Regions from separate parts of the Homo sapiens genome. Here regions 1, 2, 3, 4, 5 and 7 are each linked to region 6. Evidence: promoter capture Hi-C in 16 types of primary human blood cells and fetal thymus (Javierre and others, 2016). All regions are on one chromosome and are shown on one strand. The core of a region is centred on a gene start or on the middle of the fragment in contact, and the rest is flanking DNA. Distances in the headings are between cores, read along the strand shown.

Region 1 (3,651 bases), core at 591-3,090, 240 kb after region 6:
TATAAGCTTCAAGCCTGAAGCAGGGGAATTGAATGTTCTTGTAATTTTATCCTACATAGCAGAGCCACAGAAATTCTTCTTATCCAGAGGAATGTAGAACTCAAGTATCCTTCCCCACCTCCACCCTTGTTCCTCCTGCTACCCCTAAGTCGTGCACAGTGCACTTCCCACTCCCCCAGAAGAATGGTTACATTGGCCAGTATTGTAATGATTCCTCAAATTAGTAAGGCGTTTCATGGTTTATAAAGCTCCTTCCCTTTCATTCTCTTGTTTTGATTCTTATTCAACCCTGGGAGTGAAACATTGTTTTCTCATTTTTTAGAAGAACTTGAGGGAGCAAAGCACAGATGTTCAGACCTATTCATTCATTCATTCATATATGCATTGATTGGGAAAATGATTGAACACCTACTATGAGTTAGACACTGGCTAGATGCTGAGGACACAGTCATGAAACCAGACAGCCATGGCCCCTGCCCTTATGGAGTTCAGTCTAGTTGGACAGTGAGGGGTGGATGGGGTGAGCCAGACATTAACTGAACACAAACTGAATTGTGAACTATGAGAAGCGATTACAGGGGAATTTCAGCCAGTCTGAGGGCCAAGGAAAACATCTCTTGAGGAGGAGTGATTTGACATTAGAGATGAGCTGATTGATGATAGGCATTAGCCAGGAGAAGACAGGGTAGAGCAGAGAATCATTCAGTAGGAGGAAAAAGTATTGGGAAGGCACTGTGACAGGAGGGACATGGCATTGCAGATAGAAAGAGGATAAGAGGCAAGAGAAGAGGCTGGCGAAGTGGGTAGGGGCTAGATTATGCAGGGCCTTGCATGCCATGGTTAAGAGTTTGGTCTTGTCCTAAGAGCCATGAGCCACAGAAGGTTTTCAAGCCAACTGGCATAACCATTCTGGTTGCTATGGAGAATGATGTGTGAGGAATGACAGGGCTGGAACAAGAATAGGGCAGCAGAAACATAGAGACGTGTAGATTTGACAGATATTTGGAGGTTAAATTGGCAGAAAGTTCATGCTGTGTTGATTCCAGCATGCCAGAAATGTAAATGGAGGTAGTGGGGTGTAATGGGTTGAACAGTAGCCCCCGAAAAGATATGTCTATGTCCTAACCCCTGGAACCTGTAAATTTGACACCTCATTTAAAAATGGTCTTTGCAGGTGTAAGAAGTTTAAGGATCTCAAGAGAGACATACTGGATTATCCAAGTGGGCCCTAAATCCATTGCTGACAATCTTTATAAGAGTGAGGCAGCCACGCCTATAATCCAAGCACTTTGGGAGGTCAAAGTGGGAGGATCACTTGAGGCCAGGAGTTTGAGAACAGCCTGGGTAACACGGCAAGACCCGTCTTTACAAAAAAAATAAAAAATAAAAAATCAGCTGGTTGTGGTGGTGCTTGTAGCTACAGCTACTGAAGAGGCTGAGCCAGGGGGATTGCTTGAGGCCAGGAGTTCTAGGTTATGGTGAGCTATGATCACACCACTGCACTCCAGCCTGGGCAACAGAGTGAGACCCTAGAGAGGCAGAAGGATATCACATAGACAAAAGGGTCAGGTCATGTGAAGATGAAGATGGAGGCAGAGATTGGAGGGATGCAGCCCTAAGTCAAAGAATGCCTGGAGCCACCAGGGGATGAAAGAGGCAAGGAAGAATCCTCCCTTACACTTTCATTTTATCTTTATTTATTTTTAATTGACAAATGATAATTGTGCATGTTTATAGGGTACAATGTGAGGTTTTGATCTATGCATACATTGTAGAAAGATTCAATCAAACTAATTTACACATCTATCACTTCACTAATTTATCATAAACTTCTCACCCTAGAGCTTTCTTGATTTCAGATTTCTGGCTTCCAGAAGTGAGAAGAAATAAACTGTTGTTTTAAGCCACGAAGTTTGTGGTAATCTGTCATAGCAGCCCTGAGAAATTAACACATGGAGTTTTGCTGTAAGATGGCTAGTTTTCTTTCTTTTTTCTCCAGAAGTGTTACCTTTTAAATTTTAGTACAATATTTGACTCTCTCTTTATGTGTATGGGAAATGTATGAAAGTCAAAAAGTAAGAACCTCAAAAGATCTCAGTCTGTGGCCATGGTTAGGATTCAGGTAGTGACTGGTGTCAATCCAAACTTGAGTTTGGGATAGAACAAAGCTGACCTCATTATCTCTCTGACTTTGACCTTATTATCCCAGAACTCTAAGCCCATAACGGAACTGGTCATAGACTCAATACCGTGTCCTCAACAGTCTTTGCCCTGGCTCTGCAAACAAAGGTGCCAGATTTGAGACATATAATATCTTACATGATATAAGCCCAGATAATATTAACCAGCAAAGCAAGAGGAAGAAAGGTTCAATGGACTTTGGAGATAAACCTGCTCCTTTGGGAGTGGCTATCCTAACTCACAGGGCCTTGCTGCGTAAGGAAGGAATTCACATGCCTCCCCTGGGAGACCAGGGTATTTATAGACCGTAGGGGAGAGGAAGGATGGAGGCTCCTGGGAGACGTCATAGAGGATATGCAGAGGAAATGAAACTGCTCTGAAAGACAAACAGGAGGAATGGGGACCTGTGTGGCTATGGGAGAGGATCAGAAGGAATGAAGCAGGATGTAGGGAAAAGGGGGTAATTCTGTGGAGCTGGGCTGGGCTGGGGGCAGGAACAGAGGAACAGTTCTTCACCTCAGAGAATCTCTCTTAGGACTTATTCAGCTAATAAACTGTGAACCCTTCAAAGACATTTGAAATATAGCTGATTATCTGAATTCCACTGACAACATTTTTCAGGAACTTGGGTGTTGTGTCAAGGAAGGCGTATCTGTGGGAACCCCTGGTGTTCCTTGAATATATCAGACGATCTGAGAAGGTATGTAGTTTGCAAAGAAGTTGGAAGAAACAGAGAAATGGAATAAGCATTTCCAGGGCAGTTGGAGCCCATGTGGCAGTGGCTGAAAGGTGTCCCATGGAAGGAATTAGCATGTAGTGACTTGAATATAGTATTAAACACTTGAGATGTGAATAGAGATAATGTGGTTATGCTGCAAAATGGCTACTTCTCTAATTTTTGCAAACCTGATACCGTGTGATGGTTAGTATTTGACTCTGTGTGCTTGGGAAGAGGGCAAGTGTGAAAGACAAGATCTCGGTCTGTGGCCAGGCTTAGGACCTAGCTGGTGATCAGAATTAAGAGGTATTGGACATCAAGACAAGAATCACACAGTTAGCTGAAGAAGAAACCCCAGCAAAGTCCAACAAAGAGATTATTCCCTCAAAATGATTATTAGGATCTTTTGATTCACAGAATAAGTTCCAGGCTAAGTTTCACATAATGAACATCATGTCTCTGATTTAAATGGTCTCACACCCAGAATGGGAAAGTGAACCCATGAATATGGCTTAAGCATCTACTACTCTATGGCAAGCATTGTGCTGGCTGCTCTGGTGGTTATAGATGAGTTAGAAAGCTCAACTCTAGCCGTTAGTATCAGAAAGACAAATACTCAGTAATGAGAGAGTGAAAAATTCATGTTCTCTTGTGGTGGTTAACTGAGCAAAGATAATTTGTCATGAAGCTAGTTAGTGAGGCATCAACTAGCAGCTGGCCCATGCTTTTTTCCCCCAAGTTCCTGTTAAGTA
Region 2 (3,467 bases), core at 894-3,393, 230 kb before region 6:
AGTTCATGTCATTGCCTCTAGAAAGCTTTACCCAACCCAACCTGACTAGATTGCACATGTCATATGTTCCCAGCGCTACCTGCACTGTTCTTACCACTTACATCACATTTGTCACTCTTGATTATTGTTAGTGCTTGTTAAATTGTCTTGGCCACTAAACTCTGAAAGCAGCAAGGATCACTGTCTCAACTTGATACATAGTAGGTGCTTAATTGAATGGTCTCAGCTAGTAAAGAGTGGTGCAAAGACTGGGGCCCTATTCTCTCTGACTCCAAAGCTCAAGCTCTTAACCATAAGAAGGAGTAGGGTGCAAGGGAATTAAAGGTACTGGCAAAAGAACAGTTTGGGTGTTCTACCATTGGCCCAAATTAGTTAGAATGGAGCAGCTAGTCAAATAAACAGAGAAAATTGAAAGCAAGCATAGGAGACAGACTGAGCGAAAGCTGAAGGGATGGAAAATTGTGACCAACAAGTAGAATAATTGAGGTAGGAGGAGAGGTTTAGGAGATAACAAGATGAGGAAAAGTATGAGCCAGGTTCCAAGGTCTTCAGTGAATCAGGAGGAGTAGCCAGGAGGTGGCTCAAAACAGTGATTCGTAGGAATATAGGACTCCTCTGATGTCCCTCAGAAGAGAATGAAAGTACAAGAATCTGGAAGCAGCAGACCAGTAACCTCAAGAAGCTTGCAGAATGCCAACACCTCCTCCTGGCCTTGTGATGTGGAGTGTGGGGGAACGAACAGCCTCTATGTGTAAGCTCTCCTTAAGAGAGAGCCAAGTTTCCGTGAAGGCTACAAGTTGGAGAAAGCATTCTGTAAAAATGTTGTAGATGTAGGAGACTTATTAATAAAGTAATAATAAGTAATTCCAAACAGCCATATAAGAAAGGCTGTTCCGATTCTCCTTTTCCACACATGGGTCAGGGCTTTGGGACTGTCATGACTTGCTCTAATGTTGCCTGCCTTCTCATTGCCAATTTCCAACATATGACTGCCTAAAAAAACTGGGTACCAGAAACTGTGGTTCCCATGATTACTTGGATATGGTTTCTTAAGGATCGCTTTAGGTCAAGAACTCATTCTTCTTATTGGGCTGACAACTTTTTTTGTTTTTGTTTTTGTTTGTTTTTGTTGTTGTGGTTTTGGGGTTTTTTTGTTTTGTTTTGTTTTTGAGACAGAATCTTGCTCTGTTGCCCAGGCTGGAGTGCAGTGGCATGATCTCGGCTCACTGCAACCTCTGCCTCCCAGGTTCAAGCGATTCTCCTGCCTCAGCCTCCCCAGTAGCTGGGACCACAGGCATATGCCGCCACACCTGGCCAATTTTTGTATTTTTAGTAGAGACGGGGTTTCGCCATGTTGGCCAGGCTGGTCTCAAACTCGTGGCCTCAGTGATCTGCCTGCCTCAGCCTCCCAAAGTGTTGGGATTACAGGCATGAGTCACTGTGCCTGTCCTGGGCTGACAACTTCTTATTGACCTGGAGTTTTGGGGTGGTGATGGAAATGTTCTGAAATCAGATAGTGGTGATGGTGGCACAACCTTGTGAATATACTGAAATCCACAGAATTCCACACTTTAAAATGGTGAATTTGATGTGAATTATATCTCAATAAAACTTTTTCAATGCTAATTCATCTCTACCTCTTTTGTGTATGTGTGTGACTGTACCAGGTAGTACAGCTGGATGTGAGAGACAACATGGTGAAACTTAATGATGGCTCTCAAATAACCTATGAAAAGTGCTTGATTGCAACAGGTGAGCATTTCTGGAGATGGCTTTCTTCCCTGATACAGCTCATTCAAGTTTTAGAGTCCAGCCTTCTCTATGGAAGGCATTACTACTTAAGAAAATGGAAACCCAGACTCTCTGAAGTGAGTGTCTTCTCTTGGTACAAAAGCTGGCTGTGTCAAAGCATCCTGGATCACCAGCCCTTCTGGATGATCCTTGCTGTTCTCCCGGTAGAGGCATGAAGAAGTTGCCCTTTTTTCTCTCCCTGCTTAACCCTCACCCTGTGCCCTGTGCCTTGAAAGTGATGTCGTTTGTGGCTTCATTGCCAGTTGCAATCAGAAACCAAGAGAGGAGACAGAAGCAATTTATCAAACCCATGTAGCTATGCTAGCTGGCAAATCCTCATGAGAAACTAGAAGAGAACATGGAAGCCAAAAGTAAGGCCTTTTGGCCACCTAGGGGCAGGGTGTACCCCTTGAAGACAGACTCTCAAATCTGCTTCTCAAAGGAAACTGACAGAAAGCCTGCTGTGAGGCAAGCTGAAGGCAAACAAAGCCTTGGTATCCTATCCTGTTGTTGCCGCCATGGTGCTAAGTGAAGAGGGCTCCACCTTTGTGTGGTGGAGGGAGTATTGTTTGGGCTGGCTCCTGCTTGTTGGGCTAAAGGGTTTTCCTTCTCTTATTTCCAGGAGGTACTCCAAGAAGTCTGTCTGCCATTGATAGGGCTGGAGCAGAGGTGAAGAGTAGAACAACGCTTTTCAGAAAGGTAATTGTCTGCTTTAGTGTTTTCCTTGTGTTGTTTTTGAAGAAGTAGTATAATCTTGCAGTCCCCAAGTGCCCACCCGGGACTTGGGAGATCCAAGTTCTATTTATGGCTCTTCTCCAGACTTGTTATCTGGCCTTGAACAAGTCACTTCCTCTCTCTGCACCTCAGATACCTCACTCAAGGGTTTTAAGCTCCTAGGGAAAAAATGGAGTGTTTGTATTGCTTGCAATAGATCCTTCTGATTGCTCTTCCATAGTTGTTTTTTCCTGATGTGTTTGATTCATTGGAACCCCTTACAGCCTCTTGGCATTTTTCATTGCAAGTGCTGTGTAGAGACTTCTGAGAAAAAAGTTAAGAGTACCTAAATAAAAAGCAAGGAGGTGTTCTGCTTCTTAACACTGTGCTTATAAAAACTGCTGTCATTTTTCAGGGATAAGATTTGTCCTGTCTTTTTTTTTTTTTCGAGACTGAATCTCGCTCTATCACCCAGGCTGGAGTGCGGTGGTGCGATCTTGGCTCACTGCAACCTCCGCCTCCCGGGTTCAAGCGATTCTTGTGCCTCAGCCTTCCAAGTAGCTAGAATTACAGGCATGTGCCACCACGACCGGCTAATTTTTTTTTTTTTTGTATTTTTAGTAGGGACGTTTTACCCTGTTGGCCAGGCTGTGTACTGTCTTTTAAGTTCTTCCTAGAACAAGGCTTGTCAGCCTCTGCAGTATTGGCATTTTGAGCTGGATAATTGTAGTGGGGGCTGTCTTATGCCATTGTAGTATGTTAGCAGCATCCTGGCCTCTGCACACTAAATGCTGGGAGCACCTACTTGCCCTGACAACCAAAAATGTCTTCAGATATTGCCAGATGTCCTCCTGGGGAAGATAGGGACAAAACTGCCACCAATTGAGAACCACTGTTTATAGAAGGAATTTTACCATGAAGAAATAAATTTGCATTAATAACATAGAAGTTATAATTGAGTC
Region 3 (3,666 bases), core at 1,018-3,517, 220 kb after region 6:
GCTATATGCCAGGCACTGTGCTCGGCCTAGGTGGGTATGCACAATGACAATATTTCTGACTCTATATCTTTAGATTAGACTACTCTTAAGAACTGCAGACTCATAAATCCAACTGTCTATTTGACACTACTATGTGGATGTTTAGTAGGTATCTCAAACTGACATGTTCAAAACAACTCAACGTTTCCTCCAAATTCACTCCCCCAATGCCTTCCTCAGTTCTGTAAATGGCATCCCCATCTGTTATGGTCTGAATGTTGGCCCCCCTTCTCCTCCCAAAATTCATATGTTGAAACCTAATCCCTAGTGCAGTGGTATTAAGGGGTGGGGACTTTAGGAGACAGCCCAGGTGAAGGGGATTAGTGCCCATACAGAAGAGGCCTCAGGGAGCTTGTTTGCCCCTTCTGCCATGTGAAGACACAGCAAGAAGGTGCCATCTATGAAGTAGAGGGTGAGCCCTCATCAGATACTGAATCTGCTGGTGCCTTGATCTTTGACTCACATTCAAGAACTATAAGAAAAAAGTTCTGTTGTTTATGAGCCACCCAATCTAAGGTATTTTGATGTAGCAGCCTGAACAGACACCATCCATGCAGTTGTTCAACCCCCACATAGAAGCCATCTTTGATTCCTCTCTTTACCTCATCCATGACATCTAATCTATCAGGCTATCTGGTTGACTTCATCACCAAACATATCCTTAATCTTTACACTTTTCTCCACCATCCCTCTGCCCACCAATCCACTCTCCATAAGGAAGTCAGCATGATCTTAAAACACCAATCAGATCATTTCCTTCTCCTGCTTGAAACACTCCAGTGGATTCCCATATGTTCATGACCTAGAAGGCCCTGCCTGATCTGGCCCCTGCATTTCTACCTTGATCTCCTGCCATGTTCCCATCCCTTGCCATGCATCTTCTTCCTGTTCCTCTAACAGGCCAAACTCATGACCACCTTTGAGCCTTTGCTCTCATACCTCCTGCCTGGAATGCTCTCCCTCTGAGATGGTTCCTTCTTATGATCCAGATCTCAATTTAAATGTCACCTCCTCACAGAGGCCTTCCCTACCTCTTTACAAAATAGCTACTCTCTTTTCTCTGCATGGCTCTTATTACTAAAGATTTTTGGCGGTTGTGGTGGCTCATGCCTATAATCCCAGTGCTTTGGGAGGCTGAGGCAGGAGGATCATTTGAGCCCAGTTTTAGACCAGACTGGGCAACATAGTAAGACCCCGTCTCTCTCTACACACACACACACACACACACACACACACACACACACACACACACACAAAGCTAGGTGTGGTGGCACACGCCTGGGAGGCTGAAGCGGGAGAATAACTTGAGTCCAGTGAGTTACGATCACGCTGCTGTACTCCAGCATGTGTGACAGAGTGAGACCCTGTCTCTAAAAAAAAAAAAAGAAAAAGAAAGCTTTTTAAAATTTTCTGACCTACCTGTGTTTCCCATCCACTAGAATAAAAGCTCCAGGAGAGCAAGGAGCTGACTTCTCTTATTCATCATTTTATGCTCAGGATCTAACATAGTACCTGGCACATAGCAGGTGCTCAGTAAGTAAAGGGCTCATAGTCCAGTAGCAGAGGTTGGTGGATACAGCAAGAATGGTGGACAGAGAGCACTGTATGGTCCTTGGGGAAATGACAAAGGAACAACAGTCTGGAGGAAATAGAAGGGAGTAGAGAACATGCTGACCCCACTCCGAGCCTCGGGCTGGTGGAGGGAGGAGGCATGTGACCTCCAGAAAGGTCTGTGGTCCAGTTTCAGCTCTGCCACTCACCAGCCAAGTCACTCAACTTTTCTGAGCTGTCGTTTCCTCATTTGAAAATGAGAATACTAATACTATCACGCAACAGCATTGTTGTGGGGACTGTGTTCAATCCCTTCAATGGGCTTCCCATCTCCCTCTGGGTAAGAGCCAAGGTCACCATAAGACCTCCAAGGTCCTGCTCAATCTGTCACCGCCCCCACCCCCATTTCCTCTCTGCTCTCGTAGTTACCACTCCTTCTCTCACTCACTCTTCTCCAGCCCCACGGGCCTCCTCCACATGCCTCAAACAGCTAAGCACATTCCTGCCTCAGGGTCCGTGCCTAGCTATTTTCTCTGCCTAGAATGCTCTTCCTTCAAATATCTGCAAAGCTTCAGTGGCATCATTCAGGCCTAGTCTGAAATGTCCACCTCCTCCGGGAGACCTTCCCTGGTCAACTAATCGGACATTGCATTCATCTCTCTGGGCATTCCTTCTCCTCCTTCTCTGCTTTGTTTTTCTCCATAGCACTTATCCTATTTTTGCACACTCACTTGCTTACTTATTTTGTATATCATCTGTCTTCCCCCACTAGAGTGTAAGCTTCATGTGAGCTGGGAGTTTGTCTTAGTCTCTGCTCTACCTACAGCTTCTAGAACAGTGGCACATAGTAGGCACTTGGTAAATCTCTGCTGAATGAATGAATGAAGTGTCAACATGGTGTCTGACATGTAAAAAGTGTTTGGTAAATGGGAGTTATTATTACTGATAACTATCTCTTTATGGAGTAACTTCCTATGCCCAGGGCTTAGCACAGAGCCCTGTACTTAGCAGATGTTCAGTTGACATTAGCTGAAAGAGGAACCCTACTTGAGGTGGAAAGTACTACCTGCCACAAGAGAAACCCAAACAACCCAGGCTCTAAGAGTGCAGTGGAGGGAAGGCCAGGCCTCAGCCTGTTTCTAAAAACCAAATCGCCAACCATGATCCTGGAAAAGAGCCCTCCAGCAAGGAGACTTGAGACAAAAGGTGCTATGATCTGAGTTTTTGTGTCCTCCCAAATTCATATGTTGATATCCTAACCCCTAACATGATGATATTAGGAGGCTGGGCCTTCGGAAGGTGATTAGGTCATGGGGGCAGAGCCCTCATGAATGGTATTAGTAACCTTATAAAAGAGGCCCAAGAGAGTACCCTTGGCCCTTCCACCTTGTGAGGATACAGCTAGGAGGTGCCATCTACGAAGGAACTGGGCCCTTGTTGGACACCAAATCTGCTAGTGCCTTGATCTTCGACTTCCCAGCCTCCAGAACTGTAAGAAATAAATGTCTACTGTTTATAAGCCAACCAGTCTGCAGGCCTTTGTTATAGCAGCCCCAATGGACTAAGATAAAGGGAATTTCCACAAAGGAACACCAGGAAGCTATGTGGATCTTTAACTTGGGGTCCCTGTTCCTCTAAGTAGTCTGTGGCTGGAATTCAGAGGATTCATGAACTTAGATGGGGAAAACTACATCTTTGTTTCTGCTATCTTTTAACTATATTTTAGCATTTCCTTCAATCATGAATGCAGGTGATAAACCACCATAGTATTAGAGGACCTGTGACTTGGCCACCAGCAGAAATTACACATATTTTCATATCACATTAGAATGAAGCACATCTCTTGAAATAGCAATATGTTCATCATTGCTTTGAAATTGTGATAGTTATAAGACTCACAGCTAGATTTAGTTATATAATGTGCTAATAATGAAGCACAGACATCACAAATTTTAAAAAATATGTTGGAGACCGGGTGCAGTGGCTCATGCCTACAATCCCAGCACTTTGGGAGGCCTAGGTGAGAGGATCACTTGAGCCCAGGAGTTTGAGGTTACAGTGAGCTATGATTGTGCC
Region 4 (3,605 bases), core at 919-3,418, 210 kb before region 6:
GTCCATCCAGTTCTCCTGCTTTCAGGGTGTGCAAAACCATCTGAGAAAGTCATCTAAAGACTTCCCATAAAGAAAGGGAAGGGGCGGGGGGAATCCAAAGGATCCTAAACGTTCCCAGGTCTCACTGTGTGCCAGGAGAAATACCGCCTGTCTCCCGCCCAGACCTCAGAGCCCGGGCCTTTTTCCTACAGGGCGGTGCCCAGCTATTCCTGGAAGCCCCCTCCTTTCTACCAGACCCCTCCCCAAGGTGTCTCCTCCCAGAGCACCATCGAGGAGAAAGATCAGATCAGCAAAGCTTGACGTCCCCCTGCCCCCTCTTTCTGTCCCCAATCTGACCTGCAGTCTCAGCCTCTGCCCTCTCCTGATGCCACGGCGCTGGCTTCTTCTCCCAGAGCAGGACCTGAGCGGTGAGCTCTTCCCCAAGCCCCCCTAGGTGACCAGGAGAGGATCTGATAAACTAATTTGTGTTAATGTGATAATGGGAGCTAATGGGGTCACGTGCTAACCACGGGTCCAAGTTCTAACTCAGCATCACAAACTCAACCCCAAGTTAAGGCTGCAGAGATGGGAATTTTGGGCTGACTAATCTCCACAGCTGGCTGGAGGGGGTGGGGGAGTGGGAGGAACCGAAGCCCCTGGACGATCCCAGGGTCTGGTGCCTTTGAGCTGCTGTCTCGGTTTCAGTTTCATCCTTGGCTGACACATTCCTCCGAAGAGTGGAATTGCTTTGGTTTCCCTCCAGCCCCTCTCCCGTCCCTGGCCACCTCCGTCTTGGACTGCTAGCTCCCCTCGGTCAGCCCTTCTCTTCGTGAGGGGAGAGATGGGAAGATAATTTGGCAGCGACGAGGAAAAAATGTACACGTAGACATCCTGAGACGCACAGGCTCACATACCATACTGCTTTGCAGACAGACATGTGCACATGCCCTCCACGAACACACATGCATGCACGAGGGGACCCGACATCCAAGACTTGAGCCCACACACACACAGGCATATGCACACACATGCACACCCCGAACACAGTTATGCCCTCACTCACATCTGTGAGACCCACACAGACACGCACATAGGCAGGCAAGGCCCAGAGAGCCATGTTGCACACAGACCCACATGCACACTCATACACCCTCACACACACAAACCAGCAGCAGCCGCCGAGTTGGATGGCTTCCTCAAAAGAGGGCTGGAAAGCTTGTTTGCTGCCAGCAAAGGGGCCTAGACATTCCGTGAAGTGACTCATACTGCACCTTTATACACATTGTTATATTTTTCTGCATTCAACAACAACAACCCTCAACCCCGATGTGGGGGCAGGGTGGGGAAACTGAAGAGTGGCTGCATTTCCACTGGGCCTCTGCTATGCCTCTGTCTAGCAAATGTTTCAGGCCTGTCCTCACTTCTCAGTGGATTGTGGCAATCCCAAAGAGCAGAATTGTCTACCTCCTGGTACAAACCTCAGCCCAGGCCTGCCCCTTGGGAGGATGCAGAGTGGATGAAATTGGGGGCTGATGAGTTCCCCTCATAGACAATCCCCCATCCTACCTCATCCCTAGTCCTGGATATCTGGGGCCAGGCCCCATGGTCCCCTGTGGTGTCCCAGTCTGAGCCCCTCCTGATCTCTCCTCTCCAAGTGCCCTCCCCAACTCTCCTGAATCTGGCTTTACTGCCACCTGCTTGCACACTTCCGGGCAGTGGCATTCACTTTATATAATACGTAGAGCCCCGTGCAGTGTGACTGGAGGCCCCTCCCTTCCCCTGGGTCTCTTCTCCATCTGAGGAAGAGATGTCAGCTTGATGGCTACTTGTGTCCCCATCCCCCAGCACACTCAAGGGCCTGCAGAAATTCACTTTGTGCTCACTCCGGCAAAACCTCCCTGTGTTGACAATCTTGGTCCGCCTGCACCGGGCTGTGGGGAGATCAGCTAAGGCCAGGGCCTCCCCAGCTTCACTCTGAGGACACATCAGAGGTCAAAGAGATGACACAGGACAGGTGTTGGGCCAGCAGTTATTCATGGCTGAGGGGTTAACTCTGGCACCACTGGACAGAAGCCCCAAACCCCTGAATGCTGCAATGCCTCTGATAGGAGCCCAGGGCAGGTGCCTGCCTCTTTGCCCTGGTCCCAGGGACTTTTGCAGGCTGAGCTTTGGCTCCAAGGTAGGAGTTGGGGATCAGTGGAGTTAGAGACTCCAGGGGGCTTGCCCTCATCTCATTTGCTGACTCTGCCTAAAGCCAGTTCGTCCTCATTTTTTTTTTTCTTTTCAAATGAACCACAGGTTTGTGTCTTTCCATCTCCCACACCCTCCAAATTTCCCACCATCCCAGAGGGCCCTCCTGAAGAACACGGAATCTGTTTCCCAAACAACAGGCCCACTCCCCAGCTGTCGGGGGTTGGGGGGTAGTGCCTCCCAGCAGCCACCACGCTCAGGGTGAGCACCTACTCACAGCCAGCAGCGCCTCCTGTGTCGGCATCATCCCCTCCAGGCAGCCAGCCCTCCTGAGCTGCTGTCCAGCTCGAAGACAATTGAAAGCCGGTGATCTTCTGAAGTTTTGTAGGGGCTTTCATGGTGCTGGGAGGAGACATGTATAACTGTTTTTTGTTTTTTTGTTTTTTTGAGATGGAGTCTTTTGCTCTGTCACCCAGGCTGGAGTGCAGTGGCACAATCTCGGCTCACTGCAAGCTCCGCCTCCCAGGTTCACACCATTCTCCTGCTTCAGCCTCCCGCGTAGCTGGGACTACAGGAGCCCGCCACCACGCCCGGCTAATTTTTTGTATTTTTTAATAGAGACAGGGTTTCACCATGTTAGCCAGGATGGTCTCGATCTCCTGACCTCGTGATCCGCCCACCTTGGCCTCCCAAAGTGCTGGGATTACAGGCGTGAGCCACAGCACCCGGCCAATGTATAACTGTTTTAATGATTGTAAACTGAGCAGGGTGGGCTGCAGGGACCGAGTGGCTTTCCAAGAGCCCCAGTCAGGCATGTCTCCCAGCCTATGAGGGTGGTGCAGATGAAAGTTGTGATCTGGGAAGTGGCTACCAACTCCATCCTCTCATCTGCATGCCTGTGCTTTAACCTGAGTCCACCTCCATCCCCAGTACAGGCCAAGGCCACAGACCGTCATCTGTGAAGAAAAGCTTTGGTATAACCAGCCCATGTTGCACACAGATCCACATGCCAAGGAGTTAAGTGAGGAGAGGGAGGAAGAAACCAGCCACCTTGTCTCCAGAACCTGGGGTGGCCAGGCGCGATGGCTTACGCCTGTAATCCCAGCACTTTGGGAGGCCGAGGTGGGTGGGTCATGAGGTCAGGAGTTCGATACCAGCCTGGCCAACACAGTAAAACCCTGTCTCTACTAAAAATACAAAAATTAGCTGAGCATGGTGATGCGCACCTGTAGTTCCAGCTACTTGAGAGGCTGAGGCAGGAGAATCACTTGAACCCGGGAAGCGGAGGTTGCAGTGAGCCAAGATCCCGCCACTGCACTCGAGCCTGGATGACAGAGTGAGATTCCGTCTCAAAATAATAAAAATAATACAAAAAATTAGCTGGACGTGGTGGCAGGCGTCTGTAATCCCAGCTACTCGGGAGGCTGAGGTAGGAG
Region 5 (3,400 bases), core at 312-2,811, 250 kb before region 6:
GGAGGCTAAGGTGGAAGGATCACTTGAGCCCAGGAGTTTGAGTCTAGTCTGGGCAACATACTGATACCTTTTCATTTAAAAAAAATTTTAATAGTAATAAGAATGTTCAGTCAATATCAATAGAATTAGGAAGAATTTCTATTTCCTTCCTTCATTAATTCAACAAATATTTATTGAGCAAACATCTGTGTGTCGTCTGGCGCTGTTGCACAGGTCAAACTGGCTTCTTAAGAATGAAATCCTAAGTGTGAGGAAGAAATTGCATTGTATGTGTGGTCTGACTGCAGAAAACCTAAAATAAGTAAACTGCTGCCATGATGAAAAGTCAAGGAGTAAGTTGGCTTTTCCATGTTAGTAAGACAAGTGAAAAGGCATGTTTCAGTCACGATGTAATATTTCCTAAAATTTTGAAGCTATGGGGAGAAAGGTTTGGGAGGAATTTCATAGGGAAAAGAAAATGTGGGGAGGGGGAATGTAAGCAAACAATACTTAGTACATTTTACAAAATTAAAGTCACTTTGTAGGTATATAAAAAGTTTTAAAAGTTGGTTTATTAATGAGAGTAGTGTATTACATTTCTTTTCAAGCAGTAGTTTAAATATTAACCAGTTTACTTTTTTTTAAAGTCAATTTACTTTTCCAGCCTGGACAACATGGTGAAACCTCGTATCTACAAAAAATAGAAAAATTAGCTGGGCGTTGGTGGCTCACGCCTGTAGTCCCAGCTACACAGGAGGCTGAGGCTGGTGAATGGCTTGAGCCCAGGAAGCATAGGTTGCAGTGAGCCGAGATTGTGCCACTGCACTCCAGCTTGGGGACAGAGTGAGACCCTGTCTCAAAAAAAAAAAGTCCATTTACTTTTAAATGCTTTTTTCTTTTTTTTTTGGCAAATTGAGACAAAAGCTGCTGAACTTTCCTAAATCTACACTGTTAGTATTATCAGTTTGTGAAAAGCAAGCAGAAGGAGAATAAACATGAGTATGATATTAAAACAAATTTGTTATAATGTCTGTATTTAGGGTCTTCTGGAGGAATAAACAGAATTAAAAAAAAGAAAAACAAAAACAAAAAAAATTTATTTTTAGTAAATGAACCAGGGGTAGAGGTGGAGGACAAACTAAATTCATTGAACTAAATCACATGGAACTTTTCCTAACCAGTTTCATTTTCTAAGCTCTGAGAGTTACCACTTTCTACTTCTGATGGTTCATTATTTTTGTAAGCTTCTGAAAATCAAAAGCTTGCCCAGATTGAGATAAGTTTCTGCCCCGCTCACGTTTTTATTTTCATGATTTGTCATTATTTCCAAATCTCAACCATTTTATTTCATGTGGTGATGAAGAGTTCTAAAAGCAGGTAAGAAGAACAGTAAAGAAAAATACATTTCCTTTTCTAAGAGTGTAGATCTAAAGTCTCTTATCTGTAATTCAGAAATTGAAATTGTAGAATGACCAAAATTTAAGACTATCAAGTTTTCATAACTCATTTGCCAGTAAAACCTGACCTGAACTGGAGAGAGGCTACTTTATAATCTTTTTAAAATATCACTTAGCGTGATTGGTCATATTAATATGTTTAACTATGAATTGCTGCCCTTTACCTTGCTAGGTGTCACTATGTGGTATATGCCCCATATACTTAAGACCAGATAATTCAAAGTTCCAAATTATACATGGTCCCCAGGATTTCAGATGAGAGACCACAGATCCACATTGGGCTTGTTTTTACCCGTCTGTGGCCTAACGTTATGAAAGCAAGGGGGAAATTCCTTCTCTAATCTCTGCAAGTATACATGGGATGCTACTACCAGTGTCCATTCTGTTTGTCTTTTAAAGCCTAGACAGGACAGGGACATAAGTATCAGCCTCTAGACTAAGCTTGTCCAACCTGCAGCCCAACACAAATTTGTAAACTTTCTTAAAACATTATGAGATTTTTTTGCGATTTTTTTTTTTTTTTTTTTTTTTTTTTTAGCTCATCAGCTATGGTTAGTGTTAGTGTATTTTATATGTGGCCCAGGACAATTCTTCTTCTTCCCATGTGGCTCGGGGAAGCCAAAAGATAGGATATACCTGCTCTAGACAGATGGTTCTCAATGTGTGGTCCCCACCCTAACAGCAGCAGCAGCAACAGCAGCATCCCCTGGGAACTTGTTAGAAATGCACATTCTTGAGCCCCATCCCAGATCTATTGAATCAGAACCTCTGGGCCTGGGGCCTGGCCAGCTTTGTTTTATAAAACCTTCAGGGCATTGGGATACACTCTCAAGTTTGAAAACCACTGCTCTAGATCGGGGTCTGCCAACTACAGCCACAGGCCAAAGCCAGTCAGTCACCTGCTTTTGTATGCCCCAGGAGCCATGAGTGGGTTTTGCATTTTTTTTCTTTTTTCTTTTTCTCTTTTTTTTTCTTTGAAATGGAGTTTCGCTCTCGTTGCCCAGTCTGGAGTGCGATGGCACAATCTCGGCTCACTGCAACCTCCGCCTCCTGGGTTCAAGCTATTCTCCTGCCTCAGCCTCCCGAGTAGCTGGGATTATAGGCATAAGCCACCACGCCCGGCTAATTTTTTGTATTTTTAGTAGAAACAGGGTTTCTCCATGTTGGTCAGGCTGGTCTCTAACTCCCAACCTCAGGTGATTCACCCTCCTCGGCCTTCCAAAGTGCTGGGATTACAGGCGTGAGCCACTGCACCTGGTCTTTTTTCTTTTCTTTTTTTTTTTTTTTGAGACGGAGTCTCACTCTGTTGCCAGGCTGGAGTGCAGTGGTGCGATCTCGGCTCACTGCAACCTCCGCCTCCCGGGTTCAAGCGATTCTCCTGCCTCAGCCTCCCGAGTAGCTGGGACTACAAGCATGCCCCACCACACCTGCCCAGCTAATTTTTAACGGGGTTTCACCATGTTGGCCAGGATGGTCTCGATCTCTTGACCTCGTGATCTGCCCACCTAGGCCTCCCAAAGTGCTGGGATTACAGGCGTGAGCCACCACGCCTGACCTACATTTTTTAAACGGCTGAAAAAAAAAAGAATTTCGTGACACATGAAAATTATATAAAATTTAAACTTCAGTGTCCATAAAGTTTTATTGGAACATGGCCACATCCATTCATTTATGTATTGTCTTTGGCTGCTTTTATGCAGCATCAGTGGAATTGAGTAGTTGCAGCAGACACCAAATGGCCCAGAAAGCTGAAAATATTTACCATCTGGTTCTTTGCAGAAAAAATTTGCTGCTCTAGGTTGATAGTCAACAAACACGAGGAGTAATCACAGAATAATCAGAGACTGAGACCTTCCTTTATCTGAAAATGTCAGCGTCTCCCTAGAAAAAGAAATCTACAGAACTCTTATATTTCTATGTACAGGTGCTGTTATGATCATCACATCATTACATAGCTCTGCATA
Region 6 (3,557 bases), core at 692-3,191:
TGCTTCCAGAAGCTTTTGATGCTTTCTCTCTCCATCATTGTCCCCCTAAGACACAGAAAAGGAAAAACAATCAGGATGAGGGGGAGGGAAAAGACAACATGGAAATTGAGTCTCATGTAAAATCTCTTGTTATTTATTTATTTATTTTTGAGACGGCGTCTCGCTCTGTTGCCCAGGATGGAGTGCAGTGGTGTTATCTTGGCTCACTGCAAGCTCCGCCTCCCAGGTTCATGCCATTCTCCTGCCTCAGCCTCCCAAGTAGCTGGGACTACAGGCGCCTGCCACCACGCCTGGCTAATTTTTTGTATTTTTAGTAGAGACGGGGTTTCACTGTGTTAGCCAGGATGGTCTCAATCTCCTGACCTTGTGATCTGCCCGCCTTGGCCTCCCAAAGTGCTGGGATTACAGGCATGAGCCATCACCCGGGCCTGTTTTGGTTGGTCTTATAAATTATACTTATGCAACTTGAGGGTAGTGATTGTAACTTAGTTTCCAAATCCTCATAGCACTTAATATGATACAGTATCTTATATATGAAACACTAACCATTTGCAATTTATTTGAGAGACCTGAACAAATACATAGAACATTGTCACACCCTTCCATTCCAGGAATGTGCTCTCTACCCTAATTTTGAAGGCAGTTTAGCAATTGTCACCCACCTCATCTTCACTCTCACTCAAGAGGTAGTCTTTTGGCAAATCCGCTAGTTCTTCCTGTTGGCTCAAAGCCAGAAGGCTGTTAAAAGAGGCAACAGAGAAATGTGAATGCAATATACCCATGTAACAAACCTGCATATGTATCCCTTAATTATAATAAAAGTCGAAATTAAAAAAAGAAATATTATTATTTGAAGCAATGTCTAATCTATTAAAACAATCTCGAAAACATTGTAATTTCAGCACAGAATAGCCCTATCCCTCAGAAGATATATAAAGCAGCGTGAATGCCTTTGGAAACTTGTCAAGATGTGAAATTTAGACTGAAGTCAGGCATCACCTCCAAGAGTGATGCCTGACTTCAAAACTGCATGTAAAAGAGCTATCACTTTTCAGGGATTGGCACAACATTTCCTATGACCTATGGGAAGCTGTAAAAATGTCAGACCCTAGAATAATATGGCCAAAGACGCTGTTGCTAGCTAGCCCTGGAGGCAAGGCAGTTTCACGATTAATATTTCTAAGCATCCTCCATATATTTGACTCATTGATAGGCAGCCTAATCAAAAGTGTTATCTTGATCCTTGTTCCCAGGAATGGAGAAACAGGTCGAAAGCAGCTGGGTAAGCCACTTTCCCTGGGGCTTGCTTAGTAAAGTAGGTGCTTAACTAAGGAGATTGGTACCCACAAACAAATTATAAAATGTACCATTACCTAACAGCATATATTATTAGTATTTGCAAAGCCAACATTACTAAACGGACTACATTTAGTTCCGGGGGCGGGGTGGGGGGGGCACAAAACATCACAGGAGCCAAAACGTGGTGGATGACTCCAATCAGCAAAGCTTTCCAAGATTCGGGGAGTTTATAACGCCTGCACTGCCTGCGCAGAGGATTAAATCGGGCCGCGACAGAGGCAGAAAAAGGGGCCACGTGACGAAAAATGTGAAACACAGTAAATGAGCTGGGGAGGCAGAAACAGCATCAGGACCAACAGGGATGCGGCTATACAGCTGAGGAGCGGAGTAAGCGAATGAAATTAAATTAAAAGGGCTTTAAAGGCTGGATCGCGGAAAATAGGAACGAATGGCCAGCTCTTCAGGGGAACCACTGCCATCTGTTAAAGGGGGGGCTCCCATTTCCCAAAAGCTGGGGAACCCGGCCCCCAACGAGACCCAGAATCCCCCCTCCCCTCGTTGCCCTTCACCTCTCTGCAAGCCGGTTCGCAGTCATTTCAGCAGCCAGCTTCTCTCACATGGACCAAGAACGGAAGCCGAAGGAAAGCAATTTCCGTGCGGGCCGCAAAGCAATTTCTGTTTCCGTCAATCGCTCGCGACGTACACGTCACTTCCGTTCCGTACGAGGCGTGAGAGAAGCAGGAGCCGTGTAGGGAGGGGCCTGCAGAAAACTGGGAGGCCTGAGATGAAACGGCTGTCAGCGGGTGGGGCATTCCTTTCTCCACCCACCCCGTATTTCTCTGGCGCGCGGGTGTCTGTCCTCCTGGCCCCTGGTTTCCACGTGGCCCAAGGTGGGTTAGCTTAGGGCGACGGTGCTGCGCTCTCAGGGGCTGAGCCCGCGCCTTCATTCGTCACTGCAGAATCCAGAAGGAAAGACTACAGCGCCCGTCCTTGTGCGACGGCGTCCTGCAAGCCGACCACAAGCCAGCTCGGGGGTTTATTGAATGCCTATTAAGTGGCCAGATTGTGCCGGGCCCCGGAGATCCGATGGTGAACATAACAAGTTTCCTTCCATTTAAGGAAAAATCGCCTTTGATCCCTTGTAATTGCAGCTTTGTTCTTCATTTCCTGAGTCAAAAGATTTTTTTTATCCAAGAAGGGGCCATCAGTAACTACGCTTCCTCACCTCCCATCAACTTAAAAAAATTTTTTTAAACAACTTTTTTTCTCCCATCAACTTTTAAGAATTTTATTTATTTATTTTTGAGACAGAGCCTTGCTGTGTCGTTCAGGCTGGAGTGCAATGGCGTGATCTCAGCTCACTGCAACCTCCACCTCCCGGGTTCAAGCGATTCTCCTGCCTCAGCCTCCCGAGTCGCTAGGATTACAGGCACCCGCCACCATGCTCGGCTAATATTTGCATTTTTAGTAGAGACGGGGTTTTGCCACGTTGGCCAGGCTGGTCTAGAATTCCTGGCCTCAAGTGATCTGCCCGCCTCGGCCTCCCAAAGTGCTGAGATTACAGGTGTGAGCCACCGGGCCCGGCCTAATATATATATATATTAATTAATGATTGTAGAAAAATAATAGACAAGAACATTCTTTTCATTTTTTTTTTTTGAGACGGAGTCTCACTCCGTCGCCCACGCTGGAATGCAGTGGTGCGATCTCAGCTCACTGCAAGCTCCGCCTCCCGGGTTCACACCATTCACCTGCCTCAGCTTCCTGAGTAGCTGGGACTACAGGCGCCTGCCACCACACCCGGCTAATTTTTTTTTTTTTTTTAAGTAGAGACGGGGTTTCACCGTGTTAGCCAGGATGGTCTCGATCTCGTGACCTCATGATCCACCCGTCTCGGCCTCCCAAAGTGCTAGGATTACAGGCGTGAGCCACGGCGCCCGGCCCGTTCTTTTCATTCTTGTAATCCATTCCCATTTTGCTTTTGCCCCATTATTCCACAGAAATTGCTCTGGACAAGATCAGCGACACCCAAAGTTGCTAAATAAAACGGATACCTCTCAGTCTTTGGCTTCCCAGAACTTTGTGTGGCATTTAGTAACTGTTGATTTCTTTTCTTTTCTTTTCTTTTCTTTTCTTTTCTTTTTTTTGAGACGGAGTTTCGCTCTTGTTGCCAAGGCTGGAGTGCAGTGGCGCGATCTTGGCTCACTGTAACCTCCGCCTCCTGGGTTCAAGTGATTCTCCTGCCTCAGCCTCCCGTG
Region 7 (3,183 bases), core at 513-3,012, 160 kb after region 6:
AGATAAGGAAACTGAGGCTTCAGAGAGGTAAAGTGACTTGTCTAGGGTTTCATGGATGCAAGAGGTAGAGCTGGGATTTGAACTCTGGTCTGTCTGACTGCATGGCCCACGCTCTTAATCTGTACAGACACCGTACTGTCTTGATAACATTCTCAGTCTCCAAATCTGTCCTTAAACTCTGTGTCACAGCACCGTCCTTTCTCAGATGCTTATATCTGGGTTCTATGACTTTAGTTTTCATCTTCTATCCCTGCCCCCTGCAAGATATTCAAAGAGTCTACCCCTAGGCAGGACTAGGAGTTTGCTGGCCGAAGGCCATAAACATTAAGGGTCCTAGTTGGGTTCAGATATGAGCATAAATAACTTAATGTCGTGAAAAATATTTCATGTGAACAGGTAAAACTATTCAACAATGACCAAAGCTTTGGGTACAATACATTTTTGTAGGTTTATTTTACTACATATTTTACACATAATTTATGTTATGTGTATTTTACACATAACATAAAACATATCATTTTAATCTTTTTAAAGTGCACAATTCAGTGGCTTTCAGCATACTCACAATGTTGTGCAACCATCGCCACGATCTAATTCTAGAACATTTTCTTCATCCCCAAAGGAAACCCTGTACTCACTAAGGAGTCACTCCCTATCCCCCCTCCCCTGAGCCCCAGGAAATCCCTAATCTATTTTCTGTCTCTATGGATTTGCCAGTGCTGGATATTTCATACAAATGGAATTGTACAATATGTGGCCTTCTCTGACTGGCTTCTTTCACTTGCAATTATGTTTTCAAGGTTCAGGAATATGATACCTTTCTGAGAAACCAAATGAACCCAAATTTCAATGGTCTGGTGCGTACAGGTATGTTTGAGTAGCGAACTTTTCATGTTCTGCCCTTTGCACTCTCCTTTCTCCTTTAAAATCTGCAAGTGGCTGGAAAGTCTCTCTCGTCTTTATAAGCTTATTGAAGCTGAACTCTGTTCTTCGGCTTCCAAACTCAAGCTCCAGGTGCCTTTTTCTTGAAGACTGGCAGCGGGTGATGACTCGGCATCCCCTCACTTTTGGGAAGTGACAAAACCCTTCCAGCCCCAGGAAGGTTTTTCTTTTTTCCCTTCCCCTTCCCGACATAACTTTGACTTTCTTTATCTGAATAAGATGAGTTTTATTTATGATTTAACAGTCTTGGATAACAAATTTCTTTAAAAATGGTGTCAAGATGCAGAAAGAATGATTCTGGAAGTTACATCAGAACAGATAAAGAAAAATGGACACAATTTTCACTTGTTTCGTCATGGCTGCTATTTTGAAATCTCCCTCCTGCTGTATTGGCTCCTTTCTAAGTGAGAAATTATGTGGACTTGCATGCGGAAAGGGATCTCTTGGCTTGATCAATGTTACTAGGAATCCAAGTTCATTGGCTCATTCAGAATTCCCAGGGAGATAGGACTGGTTGGTGGCCAAGACACTGATTCATAATCAGTAGGCTGGTCCTGGTCAGGACTTTAGTTACGACTTACAGGAATCTTACAACATACTGTTCTTTTGTGATGGATTTAGATAGTGTCAACGGGGTCAAGGTTATTGATGTTATATTTTTCTAACCTTCCTGATTGGTCCAGCAAAACCTGAACTGTAATCTGTGCTACAGAATGACTCTGAACTTAGTTATTTACTTCCTCTGTCCACTCCTGGCCCACCTGACCCCAGCCATCTCACAAATCTAAATTCTTCATCACAAGAGGGTCAGAAGTAAAGGTCTGAATGATTCATTATGGATCAGTCTCTGCCACCAGGCAAGCAAATCATATCATGATTTTTTCTCTCTTGAAAGGGGTTGGATATTTTCTCTCATCTTTCTCTGTTTCCCTTCTTTCCTCCCTTCCTGCTCCATCTTGTTTCAAATCCTAACATTCTTTAACCCAACATTTTCTAAATATGGCCGGAGGACATTTTGATTCAGACTCCTCAAGGGGAGGGGGCCCTGAAATCTGCATTTTAAACAAGCATCCCAGGTGACTCAGGTGCATGCTAAGGTTTGCAAACCACTGCTTTGGTACCTCTGATGATGAAGTTTGCCACCTACGGAATAGCAGCCGGGACCTGCGTTGCTACAAGTTGGGAAGGAAACTGGGCTTACTGAATCACCTGTGAATGCCTCCTGCAGGGCATAAATGGGTTGATTTGGAACCGGTGGCCTCTCTGATCCCCATACCAGGTCCACAAGATTGGTTGTGATGGACACCAGCTGTCTGTTAGAGCCTTGGAGGGCCAGATCATAACTCTCCCAGGTGTCTGCAGAGACAAGAAGGAGTCACTTGTCCCTTGCCCATTTACACCCCAGGAAAAAATTGTGATTCAGGCAAAGTTAGTCCTGGTTCCCTTTGCCTCCCTTTGCAGCCCAGCTGCCCGGAGCCTGCCCCAGCAGCCTGCCCACCCCCCACCCCCGGCATGTATGCCCACGCTGGGGTATGTTTCTCATCCTCTTTCTGCTTTCCAAGCCTAATGCCCTGAGCCTACTCTAACACTGACTGCCACAAATTGGCTAAGCTTGTCTTTTTCATTGCCAGTGGCTGTGGGTGGTCCTTCTCTTGGGCACTAATTATTTTATCAGGGCTTCAGTGTCACAGTCAAAAGGAATGGTGATGTTCAGGCCATTGGACAGGCTGGCAGAGAAGCCAGTTCTAAAGCACAAGCCTTTCAGTACATATTCATGAGGACTCCCCTTTGGGGGAATGGGCTTGCCAGCTGTCTGAGGCCCCAGAACTCCGGGAGTTGTATTCTCAGGGGCCCTTTTTTTTTTAAACTCAGAAGCCCTCCCAACTCTTTTGACCCTTCTAAGCTACCTTCCAGAAGAGGGTTACCATGTGATTCCAGCATCATCATTGGCAGGGTTCCAGGGCACAGAGGATGGTTCTGGGTTCAAGCACATCCTGGCCTATTCATCCACTAGCTCTTTAATGATTCACTGAGTCTTCTAGGTTGGGTCTCTGCACTCATGAATTTTAAAATATTTGTACTGATTCTTTTAAATGTATTTTAATTACACAATCCATGAATACATCCTCATTGCAAAACATTCTGCAACTACAATTTCAAATGCTCTATCTTTATAGTCCCACCGCCCCTCCTTCTACCAAGGTCCATTTCTTTATATCCTAGGGAAGCTGAGTCACCCTC

What was found. Contacts are between HindIII fragments. The CHiCAGO score rates a contact against its expected background, and 5 or more counts as called.
Region 1: a fragment that was not itself captured here is called in contact with the fragment with the promoter of UTP14A in region 6 in 11 of 17 cell types (activated CD4 T cells, non-activated CD4 T cells, neutrophils and 8 more); the score reaches 18.1 in activated CD4 T cells.
Region 2: a fragment that was not itself captured here is called in contact with the fragment with the promoter of UTP14A in region 6 in 1 of 17 cell types (activated CD4 T cells); the score reaches 9.1 in activated CD4 T cells.
Region 3: a fragment that was not itself captured here is called in contact with the fragment with the promoter of UTP14A in region 6 in 9 of 17 cell types (activated CD4 T cells, total B cells, non-activated CD4 T cells and 6 more); the score reaches 13.1 in activated CD4 T cells.
Region 4: a contact is called between a fragment that was not itself captured here and the fragment with the promoter of UTP14A in region 6, in 5 of 17 cell types (neutrophils, M0 macrophages, non-activated CD4 T cells and 2 more). The highest score is 8.3, in neutrophils.
Region 5: a fragment that was not itself captured here is called in contact with the fragment with the promoter of UTP14A in region 6 in 11 of 17 cell types (activated CD4 T cells, naive CD4 T cells, naive B cells and 8 more); the score reaches 11.6 in activated CD4 T cells.
Region 7: a contact is called between a fragment that was not itself captured here and the fragment with the promoter of UTP14A in region 6, in 5 of 17 cell types (activated CD4 T cells, neutrophils, M0 macrophages and 2 more). The highest score is 7.5, in activated CD4 T cells.

What each region holds. Positions count from the first base shown.
Region 1 is chrX:129,662,193-129,665,843 of GRCh38, reverse strand. No RefSeq gene overlaps it. Among named protein-coding and RNA genes, the nearest start is that of APLN, 9.1 kb to the right of the region's middle. The HindIII fragment of the contact is 3,664 bases long and covers 9-3,651 here.
Region 2 is chrX:130,138,818-130,142,284 of GRCh38, reverse strand. AIFM1 (apoptosis inducing factor mitochondria associated 1) reads left to right here. Exons shown (of 16, transcript NM_004208.4): 7 at 1,668-1,752; 8 at 2,414-2,490. It also overlaps a transcript of RAB33A not described here. Among named protein-coding and RNA genes, the nearest start is that of AIFM1, 25 kb to the left of the region's middle. The HindIII fragment of the contact is 2,918 bases long and covers 685-3,467 here.
Region 3 is chrX:129,682,149-129,685,814 of GRCh38, reverse strand. No RefSeq gene overlaps it. Among named protein-coding and RNA genes, the nearest start is that of APLN, 29 kb to the right of the region's middle. The HindIII fragment of the contact is 211 bases long and covers 2,162-2,372 here.
Region 4 is chrX:130,116,227-130,119,831 of GRCh38, reverse strand. It overlaps a transcript of RAB33A not described here. Among named protein-coding and RNA genes, the nearest start is that of ELF4, 7.5 kb to the right of the region's middle. The HindIII fragment of the contact is 1,944 bases long and covers 1,197-3,140 here.
Region 5 is chrX:130,157,277-130,160,676 of GRCh38, reverse strand. All of the region lies in intron 1 of AIFM1 (apoptosis inducing factor mitochondria associated 1), which reads left to right. It also overlaps a transcript of RAB33A not described here. Among named protein-coding and RNA genes, the nearest start is that of AIFM1, 6.9 kb to the left of the region's middle. The HindIII fragment of the contact is 637 bases long and covers 1,243-1,879 here.
Region 6 is chrX:129,904,548-129,908,104 of GRCh38, reverse strand. UTP14A (UTP14A small subunit processome component) reads right to left here and starts at 1,941. Exons shown (of 15, transcript NM_006649.4): 1 at 1,869-1,941; 2 at 663-738; 3 at 1-45. The coding sequence starts at 1,894. LOC105373335 (a long non-coding RNA gene) reads left to right here. Exons shown (of 3, transcript NR_188631.1): 3 at 1-841. The HindIII fragment of the contact is 20,573 bases long and covers 1,509-3,557 here.
Region 7 is chrX:129,746,722-129,749,904 of GRCh38, reverse strand. It overlaps XPNPEP2 (X-prolyl aminopeptidase 2), which reads right to left. Exons shown (of 21, transcript NM_003399.6): 7 at 2,152-2,298. Among named protein-coding and RNA genes, the nearest start is that of XPNPEP2, 9.3 kb to the right of the region's middle. The HindIII fragment of the contact is 1,587 bases long and covers 969-2,555 here.